Linked DNA regions of Homo sapiens: all the other regions are linked to region 1. Evidence: promoter capture Hi-C in 16 types of primary human blood cells and fetal thymus (Javierre and others, 2016). All regions are on one chromosome and are shown on one strand. Each heading gives the region's core, a stretch centred on a gene start or on the middle of the fragment in contact. The rest is flanking DNA. Distances are from core to core; before and after follow the strand shown. Region 1 holds the start of CRTAP (cartilage associated protein). Region 2 overlaps CLASP2 (cytoplasmic linker associated protein 2). Region 3 has its middle 25 kb from the start of PDCD6IP-DT.

The links. The method cuts DNA at HindIII sites, captures the fragments that hold promoters and counts their contacts. A CHiCAGO score of 5 or more calls a contact.
Region 2: a fragment that was not itself captured here is called in contact with the fragment with the promoter of CRTAP in region 1 in 1 of 17 cell types (erythroblasts); the score reaches 6.3 in erythroblasts.
Region 3: a fragment that was not itself captured here is called in contact with the fragment with the promoter of CRTAP in region 1 in 4 of 17 cell types (endothelial precursors, naive CD4 T cells, naive B cells and 1 more); the score reaches 6.8 in endothelial precursors.

Annotation. Positions count from the first base shown.
Region 1 is chr3:33,112,104-33,116,096 of GRCh38, forward strand. CRTAP (cartilage associated protein) reads left to right here and starts at 1,911. Exons shown (of 7, transcript NM_006371.5): 1 at 1,911-2,445. The coding sequence starts at 1,975. RefSeq lists silencers at 1,741-2,040, 2,481-2,670 and an enhancer at 2,622-3,613. The HindIII fragment of the contact is 4,978 bases long and covers 1,314-3,993 here.
Region 2 is chr3:33,653,900-33,658,156 of GRCh38, forward strand. The region is part of intron 7 of CLASP2 (cytoplasmic linker associated protein 2); the gene reads right to left. Among named protein-coding and RNA genes, the nearest start is that of CLASP2, 62 kb to the right of the region's middle. The HindIII fragment of the contact is 1,627 bases long and covers 716-2,342 here.
Region 3 is chr3:33,771,555-33,776,112 of GRCh38, forward strand. It overlaps the pseudogene SDAD1P3. Among named protein-coding and RNA genes, the nearest start is that of PDCD6IP-DT, 25 kb to the right of the region's middle. The HindIII fragment of the contact is 411 bases long and covers 2,374-2,784 here.

The DNA.
Region 1 (3,993 bases), core at 661-3,160:
GTTTTGCCTTTTCCAGAATGTCATTTGGCTGGAATCACACAGTATGTAGCCTTTTCAGTTTGGCTTCTTTCAACCAGTAATATGCATTTAAGACTTCTCCATGTCTTTTCATGGCTTGATAGCTCATTTCTTTTTGGCTTGGAATAAAATTCCATTGTGTGTATATACCACAGTTTATGTATCCACTTACCCACTGAAGGACATCTTGGTTGATTCCAAGTTATGGTAATTGTGAATAAAGTTGCTACAAACATCCATTCGCAGGTGTGTGCATAAGTTTTAACCCATTTGGGTAAATACCAAGAAGTGCAATTTCTGGATTGTATGAGTAGAGTATGCCTAGTTTTGTAAGAAACGGCCCAACTGTCTTCTAAACTGTATGTACCATTTTGCATTGCCACTATCAATGAATGAGAGTTCCTGTTGCTCCACATCCTTGTCAGCATGTGACGTTGTCAGTGTTTTGGATTTTGTAGTGGTATCTCATTGCTGTTTTGGCCTATATTTTTCAAAAATGACAACGGCATGACAAGAAAAGCCGAGGAACCAGTTTAAAGGATATGAAATAGACTAGATGTAACAGTGATCACGGATGGACTGCATCCTAAGAGAAAAAAGTGCCATGAAAGACATAATTGGAACAGCTGACATAACCGGAAATGGAACATGATTAAAGTCTTCTATCAGTATTAAATTTCCTAAATTTGATTGTCTGGTAGTTTCATTCTTAGGACATACATACTGAAAGACTAAGGGGTTGGGCACGGTGGCTCACGCCTGTAATCCCAGCACTTTGGGAGGCAGAGGCAGGTAGATCACCTAAGGTCAGGAGTTCAAGAACAGCCTGGCCAACATGGCAAAACCTCATCTCTAGTAAAAAATAGAAAAATTAGCCAGGTATGGTGGTGTGTGCCTATGATCCCAGCTACTCGGGAGGCTAAGGCAGGGAGAATTGCTTGAACCCGGGAGGCGGAGGTTGCAGTGAGCCGAGATCGCGCCACTGCACTCCAGCCTGGGTGACAGGGCGAGACTCCGTCTCAAAAAAAAAAAAAGGAAAAAAAAAAAGAAAAAAAAAAGACTAACGGACAGTGGGCCTGATACATGCAACCTATCTCAAATGAGTCAGAAAAAAATGTAAAGATAGAAATGTGGTATAACGTTAGCAACTTGTGAATCTTGATGAAGGGTATATAGGAACTTTTTGTACTGTTTTTGCAGCTTTCTTGTAAATTATTTCAAGATTTAAAAGTTTAAAGATTTTTTAAAAGTGCTGCCATTAACATTCCATCCATATTTTTTGATGCACACGCGCAAGCTTCTCCAGCATATTCCACCGAATGGTGTTGCAGATTCATAAGGTGTGCACATCTTCAACCTGACTAGCTATACAGTTTACAAAGTGCTGACATCCTTATTAATTTTATTTTTGCACTGTCTTTTTCTCTCACTAAAATTTAAGGTTGGGCAGTGCTATTAAAAGTGCGGCCCTTGGGCCCGCAGCATTAGCCTCATCAGGGTGCTGGTTAAACACACAAATCGTCAGACCTCCACCCCAGACTTTCTGAATCAGAAACTCTGGGGGCACAGCCCAGGAATCTTCGTTTTCACAAACCTCCAAACGAATATAAAGATCGTAGATTATATAGACCGTAGGGCCGATGTATATAATCTATTAGGGCCGCGTCGGCCTTGCAGGCGGGTCTCCAAGTGAATGAGCGGCAGAGTCCCATCATGCGCATCAGCCTGCGTGAACCAGTGCGCAGCGCGCCTTTCCCGGGCACCCTCTAGGTGCTGGCAGCTGGCGCCCAGATCCCCCGGCTGGGTGGGGAGGGGCGGCCGGACGGGGCGGGCCGGAGGCTGGCGTCCCCGCCCCGAAAGCACTGGGCCCGCCGCGTCGCACCGTCCTCTTTCCTTTCCTTCTCCCTCCCCTTTTCCCTTCCTTCGTCCCTTCCTTCCTTCCTTTCGCCGGGCGCGATGGAGCCGGGGCGCCGGGGGGCCGCGGCGCTGCTAGCGCTGCTGTGCGTGGCCTGCGCGCTGCGCGCCGGGCGCGCCCAATACGAACGCTACAGCTTCCGCAGCTTCCCACGGGACGAGCTGATGCCGCTCGAGTCGGCCTACCGGCACGCGCTGGACAAGTACAGCGGCGAGCACTGGGCCGAGAGCGTGGGCTACCTGGAGATCAGCCTGCGGCTGCACCGCTTGCTGCGCGACAGCGAGGCCTTCTGCCACCGCAACTGCAGCGCCGCGCCGCAGCCCGAGCCCGCCGCCGGCCTCGCCAGCTATCCCGAGCTGCGCCTCTTCGGGGGCCTGCTGCGCCGCGCGCACTGCCTCAAGCGCTGCAAGCAGGGCCTGCCAGCCTTCCGCCAGTCCCAGCCCAGCCGCGAGGTGCTGGCGGACTTCCAGCGCCGCGAGCCCTACAAGTTCCTGCAGTTCGCTTACTTCAAGGCAAGTCCGCCTCGCCCCGTCCCAGGCCCCGGCCCCGCCCCTGACCCAGCCTCCAGGCCCTAGCCCCGCCCCTGCGCCCGGGGCCGCGTTGCCCCTCCAGTTCTAGACCTGGCTCCCTCCCATCCAGCCCTGCCAAAGGTCTCCTCCAAGTCCTGTCTCCTTCTTCATCTCAACTAGAGATGAAAATGCCTTTCTTGAAGGGTAACTCTAAGGTAGAGAATACGTACACAGAACGCAGTACAGCGCCAGGCACCCAACAAAGTGCCTGATAAATGTTCTCTGTTATTTGAGGGCAGACGCCTCTTTTCTGTATATACCATTAAAGTCGCCTTTTTTCTCAAGTGAGCGGTGACTTGCGATAATAAAGCAGAAGACCTGAGGAGCCGACAAGTACCTTTTATTTTTATTTTTTGTTGAGACAGGGTCTCACAGTCGCCCAGGCTGGAGTGCAGAGGCGCTATCATGGCTCACTGCAGCCTTGACCTCCTCAGGCTCAGGTGATCCTCCACCTCAGCCTCCTGAGTAGCTGGGATTATAGGCGCGCGCCACCACACCTAGCTAATTTTTTGGTATTTTCTGTAGAGACAGAGTTTCGCCACGTTGCCCAGGCTGATCTCGAACTCCCGGACTCAAGTGATCCTCCCACCTCGCCTCCCAGAGTTCTGGGATTACAGTCGTGAGCCATTGCACCCAGCTGACTAGTTCCTTTTAAAGAGGATGAAATTGAGGCCAGGGAAGGGCAGGGACTCCTTGCAAGGACACATCCCTGCTTAAAGGGGAACTCGTGCACCGTGAGTCATCAGGATTGGCCCTCTCCGCTGTTTCTCTCTTTCATCTAGAATTTAACACAGTTCACTGCCTCCTTTTAATGGCTGCTTAAGTTCTCTCTGTGATTGCTGGCTAAAAATAGCCACAAATTGCAGTTCTCTATCCTATGGGTTCTCACTCCGAGGACCCACAAGTTTTAAGAATGGTTAGATTCCCTGTCACTAGATAAAGAGGCTCTAGCTTGGTGGGTCCTCACAGGGTTTGGCTAAAAGAGCCCTCTCAAAGCCCAGTTTCTACTTTCTCTGAGAAAGATTTTAAAAGGAATATATTGTGTTTTTTAAAATTACTACAAAAATAGATTCATGGCATATCCTAGACTCTTGAGGTAGAAGGTTTTTGTTTTTAAACTTTGTTTTCAGTTTCTGGACTGCAAGATCTGTTTTTTCAGATTTCCACCGAGACAGAGCCACGTGTATATTGTATTTATATGAGCAATAAAATAACACAAAACCCCAAAGAGGGGAAAAGCTGGGTTACTTCTATACTTCTATGCTTAGTTACAGTTTTATTTAAAGTATCAGTTTTGTGAATGTTTGTTCTGGCAATTAAAAAAAAACAGTTTTAAAACAGAAGCAGGGAATGAGATTAATAAAATTCCAGAATGTTGAAAATGAGGGCTGGTTCATACAAAGCATCATTTTTTAAGCTAAAAATGACTTATCTAATTCTTTTTTTGTATAGCTTTTGGCAAATATGTTCTGAACCAAATTTAGGTCACAT
Region 2 (4,257 bases), core at 279-2,778, 540 kb after region 1:
CCCAATAAAATAACTCAAAAGGGTAAAGAAAATAAGACGAGGGTGGAATACGTGAAATCAGCATCTAAAAAATCACAATGAATTCTTAAAAGATGCAAAAAAAGAAGGCACATTCCCTTTGCTCTGAACTGTCAAAAAAAAAAAAAAAGAACGAACAGCTACTGAAGAATAACACCGTTAACACCACAGTAAAGCCACAACTTGTGATTCTCAGAAGCTAAAACAGCAGAGAATTTATCTACCTTGCAGAATAACAGAGAAGTGACTATTTCTAAGCCAGAAAGTACAGGGATGAGCACAAGGAGCAACTGAAAATCTACGGAATCGTTTTATCAAACTCTTTCCCATCCCTGATTCAGGGAACACAACATTTTACACACAAATGTGCACATGAGTGCACACACACACAGGATTTTGTGGAAATGGAACCACGGAAAAAGGAAAAAGCAAGTTCTTGGACACATTTAAACTTTTGTTTGTCAAAGTTAAAATTTAATAGAAGGATTGGGTGAGAAAGTCAAGGATATCTCCCAGAATATAGAATAAGAGAAAGACATAAAACTTGAAAGCGAAGACAAAACATAAAAGACAGAGGATCAACCCAGGAAGTTCAATATCTGAATAACAATTAGGTAAGAAAAGACTAAACTAATAAAGGGGAAAAGCTTACGAAAAAATAATAGGAGAAAACTTCCCAGAGCTAAAGAAAATCACAAGCTTTCAGAAGTAAAAGAATCAAATAGTAAAAATTTAAAACATCTTCAATTTAAACTAAAATGAAAAAATTTAGTAAAATTATTAGAAATTGAAAATTCAAGGACTTCAAAAATAAGACAACTGGCTATATTTTAATATTCACATGCAGATGCAGTATTCTCAGCAGCACAACCTTAGTTAACTATTTTATTTATAAGAAATAAAGTCAGTTCTATACAAAGTTTAATAGAGGCCATGATAATTGATAAAGTATCTTGAAATTTCTAGGTAGATATAACTGACTAGTTAAAAATATATTTGAAGACTTTTGCCCTTTTATTTAAAGGGGTCCCTTAAAAATTCAAGACTTTGAACAGTCCAATGAAGTAACGGGACAATCACAATTTAAACCATTATTTGGTATTAATGAAATTAAATAACACATGCCATAATAGCCATAACAGCAAACTAAATAATAAATGAGGCTCAGAATCAGGTTTATTTAGAACCTTTACAAAATTTAGTCATTTCAACTACTTAAATTTTCAAGACAGTTTAGCCTACTGCAGCTTTAAGAACATCAATTGTACTATTCTATATGTACAAAGAAAACATGTAAACCTTTTCTTGAAGATTCAAGTTTATTAGCAACATCAGGTTTGAGGATATGTTACTATTGGTGCCCAACCCCCTGCACCCGTTAAATGAGACTGCCTTAGAAGGACACTATTTATTCAAAGGTACAGTATATTCACTTAGATGCCCTTAACACAGACCTAAAACACAGGATGGTTGTACAACACCTTCAATGGCTACAGCAGGAAGGTACCATAGGGTGGCTTTATTTTAGTCATTGTCTATTTTCAATCTTAGTGCCTGCTACTTACTGCCTGTATTACTGCTAATGCCCAATCTTCTGTCTCTTGTAATTTACTTTTTCACCTTATAGACTTCTTTTCCCTCTATCAATGTCCCTACAAGAAAAGTTAGCCTTCTTGCCAGTAAGTCAAATGGTTGCTTTCTTTCATTAATTTAAATTACCTGATCCCAGTGTATCACAAAGAATATTCAACAGCATGGAAGAAGAGAGATCTATTTAGTACTAATTTATTGCTATTGTTCTATAAACAATTGTAAATCAAGTTTTATATATATATACACACATACCAAGTTATATATTAGTTTGGTGTAGTCCCAGAAGGCTGGTCTCTAGAAAGCCATGGTTATATCATCACTTTTATATATATTTTTAAAGACTCATTTTTGGAATAATAGACTGTGCTGAAATGTTAAAAGTTTAGAAAGAATCTATTTACAACAAAACCTTATTTCTTTCCAGCCACTCTGCAGCATAACAACAAAAGGCCAAATTCCTCTTGCCCGCTTTTTGAGGCAGACTGCAGGGCTCAGCACCACATAATAATCCTACAGGTTTTTAACTCTATCTGGTTTGATTGCCCAGAGCTACTGCATGATTATCTGACTACTTGATTTAATACTCATGGGTAAGGGTGAGGACAACTAAATTGAAAAGCCCCCCAAACCCACCCTCAATTCATAAGTGAAAGCCATTATAGTGCTTCACAAACCCAAGTTTGCCTAGAAATAAAACTGCTAATGAAATCTTTCACATGGTCTTGAAGTTAAGCTTACATAACATATTCAATAGATAATAGATTAATAACTGGAATATATAAAAAGCAAGTATAAATAAACAACCACAAAAAGGTCAAACAACCAAAAAGTTGGCTACAATGCTGAAAGGCATCTACAGAGAAGGAAATATAAATAACCAAACACATGAAGGTGATCAATCTTATCAGAAAGCATAGATGTTTATAAAGGGTGAGATATTTTTCAACCATCTGATAGACAAATTTTAATAATAACCAGAACTGAAAAGAATGTAGGACAGCAGACACTACTGGTGGGAGTGTATGTGGTAAAGCCTCTTTTGGAGCAAATTAGCTATACCTAACACAATTCTAAAATAAATGAAAACTTTGATTCAGAAATTCCACGTCCAGACTATTTTAAGAAATATATCTGTGTGTATATACACAAACACATGTAGTTTGTACAAAGGTGCTTATTTCAGAACCATTTAGAAAAATTATATATAGTAAACAAATTTCTATAGAAGACAAAATGGTTATGATATGTCCATATTATAGAATACTATGCAACCGTTTTAAAAAATGATGCGAAATAACACGATAGTATTTTTTTAAAAAGCTCCATCCCATACTGAGTAAACACAGCAAATGGCAAAATTACATTCAGAATGGTATCATTTACGTAAACACAGTCAAAGCAAAACCATATACTTTGATATTTAGTATGTATGTAAAGGCACAGTAACAGGTAGAAAAAGACATGCTACGTATTAATAAAAGTGTTCTCCTCTGTTTACACCTGGGCTCGGGGCTTGAAGGTGGTTTTGAAGGGATTTTTGCTTTACCTTCATTGTTTGAATTTTGAAAGGGAAATGACATTTGTATATTCGTAAATAAACAAAGTTTGTAAGTTCGTAAATAAACAAAAAACATCAGGTAGGGGCAGTATAATCCATTTGTTTTATATGTTCATGTTTTATATGTTTACATGATTCTGGTATAGTGTATGTGCACTGGATGTGACAAAGACTAATACGCAGGAGTATATATCAAACTGTTAAGAACTATATAAATCCCAAGACAGCCTATCACTATATACATATCTTTATTGTTTAAATTTTTTATAAAGGTATATATTTTTGAAGAAGAGAATTAGCTGAAATGTTACCCTCTGATCTTTGTCAGAGGTTGTTACTTTTTTAAAAATAATTAATATATTCCTCAACAGTCCAAATGTTATGTATTATTTGAAAAAAGAAAAACTAAGTAAATATAAAACTATAACCATTGAACCTAAAATGTTTAAGAAATAAAATAAAATCTGGATATGGCCCACACCAAATGCAACATTTAGGGTTATCTACAAATTAGGTTTGGTTTTTTTTTTTTAAAAAGGAAGAAACTTGGCAATGCCCTTAAGTATATGAGAACTTATTTGTTAATCCTGCTTTTGTCTTAAAAATTGGTAGTTGAAAAATTATTTTCTCATTTATTTCCATAAGATCATATAAAATAGTTACATAAATTCTTGGAATAAATCATAACGATATGCCAAACCAAATTTTCTATCAGATTTCCATTTAAATGTACATAATAGTTCAAATGACTGTCTACCAACACCATCATTTTGATATATTTGTATCCTATCTCTCATAGCCCCTAGGGGAATTACTTCTTAGAAGAGTTCACTACATACATAGTCAAAGGAAGGCTGAAACTGTTAAGAGTTAAAACCTCCATATATGGACCAGTCTTCCTTAAGAACCTGGCAAAAAAACACTCAAAACATTTTTGAGGAACCTCAGGTTTCCCTTCATACATATCTGTGATGTTGATGTGATTATAAAGTATATCTCTAGGCCTCGTAACAAAAAAAGGTGTAATGAAAAAAGAAAAAAAGCTCAAGTATTAAGTGTTATAATGGAAAATACCAAACACACATTTG
Region 3 (4,558 bases), core at 1,329-3,828, 660 kb after region 1:
AAAAAATTTAAAAATTAGCTGGGTATGGTGGTGCATGCCTGTAGTCCCAGCTACTGGGGAGGCTGAGGTGGGAGGATCGCTTGAGCCAGGGAGGTCAAGGCTGCAGTGAGACATGGATGTGCCACTGCACTCCAGCCTGGGCAGCAGAGTGAGACACTGTCTCAATAAATAAATAAATAAATAAATAAATAAATAAATACAAATGGTCAATCAGCACATGAAAAGATGCTCAACATAATTAGTCACCAGGAAAACACGAATCAAAAACAAAGATACAACTTCACATAGTGCTTGGATGGCTATAATAAAAATGTCTGATAGAAGTTGCAGCTAGAACTGATTGGTGGCTGTTGGCCATCTGAGTTTTCATAGAACTGCTCACCATGGAGCCAGTCTGCAGCCAACACATCCAACAGAAACCACAGTGTGCCCAGCATCCTGGTGCAATGACAGAATCTAATCAAGCAGGACTCACCTGTCCACACTGAAGAGTATCTATAGCAGTATAATCACCACAATTCCAATGTGGAGATTTTCAAATACCAACCAAATAAATTGAGCAAAGAATTAGCAGAGCTGGTTCTGTTTATGGCACAGATTGTTCACTGCTACCCGGAGCATCCAAGTAACTTTCCTCAAGAGTGCAAAGATCTTCTCTCCTACCATAGCCCTATCTTGGGTCCAGATTTTCTAATGACATTTTGCAAAACTTTGATCTTGCTAAGAAGAATCTCACTAATCTTGGTGACACACAGCCTCCCTGCTTGGGAAGCTGAGGTGGGAGGATTGCTTGAGCCCAGGAGTTCAAGACCTGCCCAGGCAACATAGTGAGAACTCGTCTCTACAAAAAATAAAAAATTAACTGGGCAGGGTAGAGTGAGCCTGTAGTCCCAGCTACTCAGGAGGCTGAGGTGGGAGGATTGCTGGAGCCTGAGAGGTTGAGGTTGCAGTGAGCCATGATTATGCTACTGGACTCCATTCAGCCTGGGAGACAGAGCAAGACCCTGTCTCAAAAATAAATAAGGTTAAATTAAAATTTAAAAAAGTAGATAGAGAGTAGATTTGCATACAGAAAGAGAGTAGATTTGCAGTTGCCAGAGATTGGGAGAAGAGGGAAGCAGGAGTGACTATTTAAAAATATAGTTTTCTTGGCTGGGTGCAGTGGGCTATGATTGCACCACTGCACTTCAGCCTGGGTGACAGAGCAAGACCATGTCTCCTCAAAAAAAAAAAAAAAAAGTGTATTGATGAATATTTGATAGACTACTATTATTTTTTCATAAACTTTAAAAAAGTATCATATTATTGGTATTTAGGGATTGGAAGTTTCTTAAAATTTTGAGTAAGGAATAAAATTTGTTGAGTTAAAAATGACAATGTGTGGAATTGATAAGGATGTAGAAAATACATACTATCAATAGTCTGCTGCTAAGGATACAAATTGGTACTAAATTTCTGGAAGGCAACTTGGTAGTATACATCAAGATTTTAAAAATGTATGTAATAATTGACTTAACAGTTTTAATTCTAGAAATATAGCCTAAGAAAATAATTGAATCCATGTGCAAAGTTCTTTGTTTATTGTATCACTATTTCTTCATTTAGAAACTATACTGTAAGCAGTGTGAATTTTTGACAGCATTAAGTTTGACATTCACACAAAGACATACCCGGTGGCCATAATGATATTCATTATCATGGAAAGATGTCTAAAATATACTATTGGTGAAAAAATCAGGTATCAAACAGCATTTATGGACTAATCCCACTGAAATCATAGAGTTCATTCTTTCCTTATTTTTTGCATTTTTGCAGTGCACATGTGTTATCACTTCTCTGCCTTTTGGCTAAGATCAAGTGCGGTGCACATGTGTTATATTTATAATCATAAAAATCAGTAAAGCTATTTCCATCTTAAAGAAAAAGATCCCTCACTTTGCAATAATGAGTGGTTATGCCTCCCGGCCTTGTCTTCTTTAACTACTAGACAAGATTCATGCCTTGGAATTCCTCTGAACTTCCCTACTACACTACATTACAAGGAAGGCAATGTGGGTATCTCCCTCCTCCGTGACAACTTAAGAGATGCAAGGTCAGGGCACAGGTCACAACAGAGAGGGACACTGATGGCCAATTCTGGGGCCTCTCATCAGTTGTCCCATTCCAGGTTTTTAGGTAGAGGGCTGCTTTGCTGCTTCAAGGTTAAGCTTGCCTAATACTCCTCTAGGAGCTTTAACGAGCTAAGCACAAATCACTCCACTGAACTCACCAAATGCTATGCCTCCCTCAGCCTTGCAGACTTTCCCAATCCACTGACATCACTCTACTAAGCCAGTCCATCCCATCCCCCCTGTTCTGGGAGAATCCTACATAAGCTTTCTTCAAGTGGTCTCTAAAACCATTTTTGGCCTCACTTTATTAGAGGAGAAGGAGGCGCTTGCTGATATCAGTATTTCTTACCAACTCTGTTTCCATCACAGTAAGTATCAGGTATGCTAAAAGCATGTGTTTGCCTGGAAAAAAGTTCCTTTTACTTAGCTGCTCTAGGGTATCTCTATGATTTTGTTCTGCAACCTTAAGGATGATATAACTAAAAAGTAGGAGTATAGAACATCCCCAGGTTTAACATAAGCTGCATTAATTATTATAACCTTCCCTCCTCCCAGCCAAATAAAAAATCAGACTCAGAAACCCCACTGATCTTATGCATGTTGGTACTCCCACATAGTTTACTTTTAATACATGTCTATTAGATATCATTATATAAAGTTAACATTGCAGGGAAGCTTAAATGTGTCATTTGTACACCATGGTTGGATCTTGATATGCTGGATATTTTTTAAAAAGGCTCTACTACAACCAAAGTTAGATCCAAATCCATAAACAGGTAGATAACATTTCTTTTTTATTTTTTTGAGACAGTCTCACTCTGTTGCCCAGGCTAGAGTGCAGTAGCATGATCTCAGCTCACTGCATCCTCTGCTTCCTGGGTTCAAGCGATTCTCCTGTCTCAGCCTCCTGTGTAGCTGGGATTACAGGCAAGTGCCACCATGCATGACTAATTTTTGCATTTTTACTAGAGATGGGGTTTCACCATGTTGGCTATGCTGGGCTCCAACTCCTGACCTCAAGTGATCCACCCACCTCGGCCTTCCAAGGTGCTAGGATTAGAGGCATGGGCCACCACACCTGGCCACATAGGTAAAATTTCGATGTATTAAGAGAAAAGGCTGGGGGCAGTGGCTCATGCCTGTAACTTTAGGAGGCTAAGGCGGGTGGATTGTTTGAGGCCAGGAGTTCGAGACCAACCTGGGCAACATGGCAAAACCCCGTCTGTACTAAAAATACAAAGAAGAAAATATTAGCTGGTCGTGGTGGTGTGCGCCTATAGTCCCAGCTGTTCGGGAGGCTGTGGCACAAGAATTGCTGGAACCCAGGTGGTGGAGGTTGCAGTGAGCCGAGACCTCACCACTGCACTCCAGACTGGGTGACAGAGTGAGGCTCTTTCTTAAAAAAAAAAAAAGAAGAAAAATTGCATTCTACACAGAGCACTTAAGTTCATAATTCTGTGAGAGAAGTATTTATATAAGACTAAAAAAATTATAGTAATCAGGAGAAAAGAAAAAAGTGGAAAATTTGTTTGCCTCAAAATTGCCAACCCTGGGCATATTTCATAAAGCTTCTACAAAAAATGGTTTACGAAGCTGAAAATAAATGTGACTGAATCCTAGATTATAAAAATTAGGCAAATCTCAGTCTTTGGAATTATCTATTATGTGCTTTTTCACACTGACTCTGGGACAGTCTGAAGTTGGTAGTGTCTGTTAAGCTCCTCTAGCTTGCCAATCCAGGTGCCTGGTACCTTCCCAGAACTGCCTTTTTCATGTGACCCTGATATTCATTCCTTTCCCAGTGCTCTTCCTGGGTAACCTGAAAAATAGCCCCAGGATAGTGAAAAGTAGTCTTCTTTCTCATCCAGAGATTAAGTGCATTTTAAGCATGGTCATCTTCTAAAGGAATGAATCATCCTAATCAGGAAAATCTGAGGCACCAGAACAAGTAGTTATATTTTGCTCGGAAATGCTTTTAGGGATACTGAATGAGGTGGTATGTACCCATAACGCCAGCTACTGGGGAGCCTGAGGCAGGAGGATTGCTTAAGTCCAGGTGTTTGAGACCAACCTGGACAACATAGCGTCAAAAACATTTTTTTGAGACCCTGTCTCAAAAAAAAAAAAAAGGAAAAAAAAAAAAGGAAATGCCTTTAGGTGCTCCTTTATATTGTTGTGAGTTTTGTTCCCATGAGACAGGCTCTATAGTATCTGGCTCTTTTCCTAAGCACTGCAAGAAAGCTAAACACAGGTCACTCTGCCAGGCCTACCAAAGTATGTCCTCAGTCTTCCCTACCGCAACATCACTCCCTACCAAGATAGCCCACCCCACCATCTCACACTGGGAAGATTCTGTTTAAGTTTTCTTGAATCTTTAGAAACAATTTTGGCCTCTCTGCTGGGGGAAGGAGTAGAGAATGCTGTTATCTGGGGACTGATACTTCCGT